Linked DNA regions of Homo sapiens: region 2 is linked to region 1. Evidence: promoter capture Hi-C in 16 types of primary human blood cells and fetal thymus (Javierre and others, 2016). All regions are on one chromosome and are shown on one strand. Each heading gives the region's core, a stretch centred on a gene start or on the middle of the fragment in contact. The rest is flanking DNA. Distances are from core to core; before and after follow the strand shown. Region 1 holds the start of RHBDL3 (rhomboid like 3). Region 2 overlaps ZNF207 (zinc finger protein 207).

Region 1 (3,038 bases), core at 336-2,835:
CTGCATAAACACTAACATTTTGCCTGCAGTTTTTTGTTTGTTTGTTCGTTTTTTGTTTTTTTGCGGGGAAGGGGGGGTGGTGAATGCCGAATGCGGTGAAGCCCACCCATTCTCTTCCAAGGCTGAGTCTAAGTGGTGACTACATCAGATTCTGCCAGGGGTTTAGGGCCAGAAGGAAGTGATAGATTTAACCGCAGACGCCAAAGAGAGAAGATCGTAAACTACCCCCCAACCCCATTCAGACTTTCCCGCTTTCGTTGTGTGGGTTGGGGGCCTGGTTTCACTTCCATCTCCCCACCCTGAGGGAGGAGTGGGCAGGGCAGGGTGTCTGCCCGGTTTTTCACCCCTATGTGTAGGTTAGCCCCGGGAGGTTAACCCAAGAAACTCCAGTTCCCAGGGCTTCGCAGGGCCGGCCCGCAGGACCGGAGGGATGGAGACCCGAGCAGCAGACGGCGGGGAAGCCCTCGGGGCAGCCCCTCCCTCTCCTCGCCCAGGGGACCGTCCCCTGGCACCGCCACGGTCTTGGACTCCCGGGCCTCCTTCTAGGAGCAAAGCCGCTCCCAGCACTCTTTGCCTCCCTGCTCCGGCCGGGGTCAGAGGCGGGGGCCGGCTTGAATTTCAATCAGTGTCGCGGCAAGGCAGGTGCCGGGCGGGAGCTAATCCGGGAGCGGAGGAAGGGGTCGCCAGGCCGGCTTGCATGGCCAGGGACGGGGACTCTGCGGCGTCCGCTCCTTCCCCAGCTCCGGGAGCTCGCAGGTCGCGGGCGTGAGGGGAGGGGGAGTCACCGCCGTGACGCGGCCGCCTCTGCGGGAAAACGCCGTGTCCCGGGCACTGCACCAGCGGCGGGGAGGGGGCTCCGGCGGTGACAGGTCCGCGGCGCAGTGGCGGTGCTGTGTCCCGCAGGGAAGCCGCGGGAACCAGAGCGGGGGAAGCGGTGCGCGCGCGTTTCGGGGAGACCGGTCCCTCCGCCCCCTCCTGCCCGCGGGGACCCGGCCAATCCGGGGCGCTCCCGCGTCACCCTGAAACCTCCAAGTTGCCCGGCGTGGGGCGAGACAGGGGCGGCTTTTCCCCCCGGCGCCCCCTAGAAAGTTTGCCGGGCGGGGAGGGGGCACTCACGTCCTCCGGCGCCGCGGGCAGCCGCTCCTCGGCCTCGGGTTCCAGCTCCTCGATGCGCTCCGCCTCGGCGCAGGCGGCCACCGCGGGGCCCGGGCTGGGGTGCTCGCCCATGGCCGAGACGGGGTCCGGGGGCGGCGGCGGCTGCGGGGCTCGTCCCGGGGCGCCGGGCTAACTTTGCGCCGCGGCGGCCGCGCCGCTCCAGGGGCTCAGTGCGCGCCGCGCCGCCTCCGCGCCCGCTCCGCAGCCCGCGCCCGCCCCCATGGCCCCGGTCCCCGCGCCGCCGCCGCCTCCTCGCGACCCCGGGACGCCCGGCCCCTCCGCCGCCAAACTTCACTGCGCTAGCTGCCCCGCCGGCCTCCGCCTCCGCCCCGGCCCTCGCGCCCGGCTCCGAGGCGAGGGCGCCCTTGGGCCGGCCCCGGCCCCGCCGCTCCCCGCGCTCCCTTCCCGCTTCTCGCGGCCCCCGCTCTGCGCCCGAGTCTCCTCCTCCCCGCGGAGTCCTCGGGGGCGGCGCGCGGGCGGGGGCGGGGCTGCTCGCGGGGAACGCCGGCCCCCGCCCCGCACCCCACCCCGGGCGCCGCCACCCGGGCCCAGTCGGTCAGAGCGGCGCGGCCCGGGAGCGGGAGGGCTGCGGCGGGGCTGGCGAGGAAGTGGTGGCGCTGCCCGGGGCGGGGATGGGGACTGCGCCGTCCCCGGCCCGGTCACCACCGGCCTGCACTCCGGGCCCGGGCTTGGCTCTTCCATCGGCTTAACCATCACTTGGAGGTGGCAGATATGTGATGGAGACACTATGTTGGCGACGTCAGGGTTAACTAGGAGTGAATTGGGGGCGCGATGTTGTAAGGACGGGATTCCTGCCTCCCGCCCCATTATCCTTACGCCCTATTCACTGCGGTCTCAGATTCTGGGAGGTCTCGGGAGGCCCAGAAATGGGAGAAGTCAGATTGCGGGGTCGTGGGCCCCAAAGCCTAAATCTTGCCCTTCCTACACCCAGAGCTAAGTGACCATGCCCAGGCTTCATTTGACCACATGGACAAAGGTAAGCCCAGGGAAATGCCCCATCTGGGGAGAGGGACGGTAAAGAAACTAAAGCAATCAGAAAGGAAGTTAGCCAAAACGGAGTAGGGGATCTTTTAAAGAAAACAATCGATGCTGTTTCCCTGCAGGAAAGCGCCCCCAAGAGAGACCATCTCCCGAAGCAGAGGCTCTGGCTGTAAATGGTGCTAGTGGCCGGCCTGGCAGGGGCCAGCTCTCCCCAGAGGCTCAGGAGCTTCTCCAGGAGGCATCTCGCAGTCAGTCCCCAGCCCACACCAAGGCTGTGCCCTTCCACTCCTCTTGCTTTCCTCTTCCCACCACCCACTCACTCACTAGTCTTTGCCCTCTTCCTTCCTCTGGGAAACGGAACAGGCTCCTTTCCATTAGTGAGAGCTGCAACTAATGCAGTCATCTTCAGAAAGCAAAGACATAACCCCGTGCCCAGGATCCGAACTGCGACCATCACCCAGCAATGACTGCTCCCCTTAAACACCGAGAAGGGAATTCACTTGATTCTAATTAGGTGAGTTTGCTACAGACACCAATTTTCATCTCTGTTTCAGAAAGTGTGATCATTTCAACTATTTTTGTTTCTCACCACCCTCCTCCCCATCCCTACTCTACTAACAAGTCAAGATCCTGCCAAGATTTCCTTGTAAATAAAACTGTCTGCATGGGGTGTGATTTTGAAAACAGCCTTCAGGGGACAGAAGAGAGGCTGATTCCTTTGTGAAGAGGAGCCCAGAAGGACAAATGACCGCTGGGGCCCTGGGGTCTGTGTCGCTGCCTCCCGCATCCCAGGCTGTCATTTGCATGACCGGTATGGGTGTTGGCTCTGTTATACTTAGATCTCTGGGACTAGAGAAGTGGGCCAGGAAGTCTGGTTCCAG
Region 2 (3,038 bases), core at 274-2,773, 110 kb before region 1:
CTACTGAAAAATATTGAAAAAATAGCCAGATGTGGTGGCGGGAGCCTATAATCCCAGCTACTCGGGAGGCTGAGGCAGGAGAATCACTTGAATCCGGGAGGCAGAGGTTGCAGTGAACCGAGATCGCACCACTGCACTCCATCCTGGGTGATAAGAGTGAAACTCCGTCTCAAAAAAGAGAAGGCACATTTCAGTATCCAGTGGCATTTCCAATGATTAAACTTATCCTTGAGGTTAAATTTAATAGTTTATGGAGAAAATAAAACCAGTAAGATTTTCCTAGAAGTGAAAGTAAAAAACTTGAATGAAACATTTCTTGCCTCCAATCAAAAATATCAAATTTTGTCAATTTATTGAAGTTCAATATAGGAACACAAGCTTTACTGAAGCTGTTAATTATGTAACACACAGCAAATTACATAAAATTGCATATGAAATACTTATGTTTATTAACACCACAGTCAAACGTGAATATTAATATAGAGCCTTCTCTGCCAAAAGAGTATAAAAATCCTAAGTTTAATTAAATTTAGGGGCCTTCACCAAACTTGCTGCAAGTTTGGGGACATAAATATCCAACAGCCATAAAGCTGTGAAAGCCCCTATAAGGAATAAAATAAATCCCACTTGCCTCAGACTGAACAGGGCAACACTGAGACTCAGCCTCAGCCTGTCCTATGGCAGGGCTATAGGAAGAAGAAAATTTTAATTTTAGAAAAACAGTTCCCAATTAATTTAAAAGACATGCATTAAAATTTTTTTTTTTAAAAATCCCAATGATCAAGCAAGCAAAAGGAGCAGCTTTGTTTTTAACTATTGTCCACTACAATTCCACTCTGAGCCCGTACTTCTTTTTGTTGGGGAATCCCCCTCCCCAATTAATTAAGTTTAATTAAGGTGAGTCTAAGTTCAAAATGTAACTTAGTGGAATAGGAGTACAGTAGGAATATTTTATTCATACCTAATGGCAAATGTGTGAGACACTACTAAAATACTAAGTATTCAAATCAAGTAATTCCAGCAGCCACTCAAAAATTAATCCTTACCTGCTGTGGTCTTGTTAAACAGTATGAAAACTTATACAACAGAAACTAGTGCCAGACAAAATGTTTTCTTGTTTTTCTAAAAGGGGTGGATGTAAGGTAGAGCCAAAGTTGCCAGCCCTACTAACCTTACAGCTTCCTTAATTATGACAATCACAATGCCTGCCTGAATTATCAAGTCCCAAAAGTTGTCTTCTGTGAGGGCAGTTGGCATCCACTTTGACTCAACTTCATCTACTACTTAAGGAAGGTTGAGTCAGAGTTAATTATATGAATATAATTTGCTCCACTCATAATTCAACCACACTATGGACCCCAGAAGCATTTAGAAAAAAGGTATTTTCTAGAAGCTTAATTACGTTTGGATGCATGCAAAAATTACACTTCAAATATATTAAATGGGTACACCACCTCTGAGCCTATAGCTACAAACTCAGGAACTCATGAGCTTAAGTTTTATCTGCCAATGCCTAACACTTTCAATTAATTTTTAATTAGAATTCTATCCCATATTTAAAAGTTCCATTTTTGCCCATCAGACCTATACAGAGAGCAAAAAACCTTGCTACAAAGTATCAACCTTCTTTGCATAAAATGCAAATAAAGCTTCACATAATTTCTGAAACAGGTCTACTAACCCTATTGCAGTTTGTCAATAACCGTATACATGAAATTCCTGAGAATTTGGGAGAGCACCCCTTACTTAATTATTCTAAATTTAATCACAGCATTTTTTTTTTTTGAGACGGAGTCTCAATCTGTCGTCCAGGCTAGAGTGCAGTGGTGTGATCTCCGCTCACTGCAAGCTATGCCTCCCGGGTTCACGCCATTCTCCTGCCTCGGTCTCCAGAGTAGTTGGGACTACAGGCATCCGCAACTACGCCCAGCTAATTTTTTGTATTTTTAGTAGAAACGGGGTTTCACCGTGTTAGCCAGGATGGTCTCCATCTCCTGACCTCATGATCCACCCGCCTGGGCCTCCCAAAGTGCTGGGATTACAGGCGTGAGCCACTGCGCCCGGCCTATCACACCATTTTTATCTTAAAGACTTTCAACACAAGTTTTCCTTCAGCAGTATATTAAGTGTGCTGCCAAATCAAAGCAGCATGTATTAATTTTGAAACCATTTAGGTAAGCAGAGGTTCAGAGGGGAAAGTGGTTTGGGACTTGGCTGCTGGCAGAAAGAAATACATTACTGGCAAAATACCTGTTTTATTTTCAAACTATGAAAATTTTTGTACCACTATGGTACCACAAGCACAGGAGCCAAAATCATTGAAGCCAGATAATCAGATATTTTAATTTATTTTTTGACAGAGTCTCGCTCTGTTGCCCAGGCTGGAGTGAACATAGCTCACCGCAGCCTCGGAAGGAGGAAGAACCTCCTTCCTCAGCCTCTTGAGCAGCTGGGACCACAGACACACACTAACGCGCCTGGCTAATTTTTAAATGTTTTGTACAGATGGGGTTTTGCCATGTTGGCCAGGCTGGTCTCAAACTCCTGGACTCAAGCAATCCTCCCATCTCAGCCTTCCAGAGGGCTGGGATTACAGGCGTGAGCCACTGCACCCAGCCAATGTGAGTTAAAATAGCATTCAGCTTTATAATACTTGCAATGTTTTGCTTAAAGGTATGACTTTCATCTGTCACATAAATACGAACTCTTTTGTGATGGCTAAATCACTTTTCAATATATTTTCCTTCAAAGTTAAAGCCCTTTTTTCCATACAACTTCAGACTTCATGTGTTTTATCTATACCTTCACAGGAAAGTTATAAAGAAATGTTACCATTTTCTTAGAAGTCTTAACTTTATAATGAGAAAAACTCAACTTGAGTTCATTATATTAATACTTTGCATAGGTTATTTGATGCCTAAAAAATCATAAAACTACCCTGCAAAAGATCAGAAAAACAGATCCCAAAAAGGTCAACAAGAGCTATTATTTTAAGAGGTTGCAACACAAAATATTGAATAGCAGTCATCTCTACAGAA

What was found. The method cuts DNA at HindIII sites, captures the fragments that hold promoters and counts their contacts. A CHiCAGO score of 5 or more calls a contact.
Region 2: a contact is called between a fragment that was not itself captured here and the fragment with the promoter of RHBDL3 in region 1, in 1 of 17 cell types (M1 macrophages). The highest score is 5.4, in M1 macrophages.

Annotation. Positions count from the first base shown.
Region 1 is chr17:32,264,379-32,267,416 of GRCh38, reverse strand. It overlaps RHBDL3 (rhomboid like 3), which reads right to left and starts at 1,585. Exons shown (of 9, transcript NM_138328.3): 1 at 1,117-1,585. The coding sequence starts at 1,227. It overlaps LOC105371731 (a long non-coding RNA gene), which reads left to right and starts at 1,966. Exons shown (of 3, transcript XR_934665.2): 1 at 1,966-2,152; 2 at 2,521-2,671. The HindIII fragment of the contact is 5,065 bases long and covers 1-3,038 here.
Region 2 is chr17:32,371,047-32,374,084 of GRCh38, reverse strand. It overlaps ZNF207 (zinc finger protein 207), which reads right to left. Exons shown (of 12, transcript NM_001098507.2): 12 at 1-3,038. Among named protein-coding and RNA genes, the nearest start is that of ZNF207, 22 kb to the right of the region's middle. The HindIII fragment of the contact is 256 bases long and covers 1,396-1,651 here.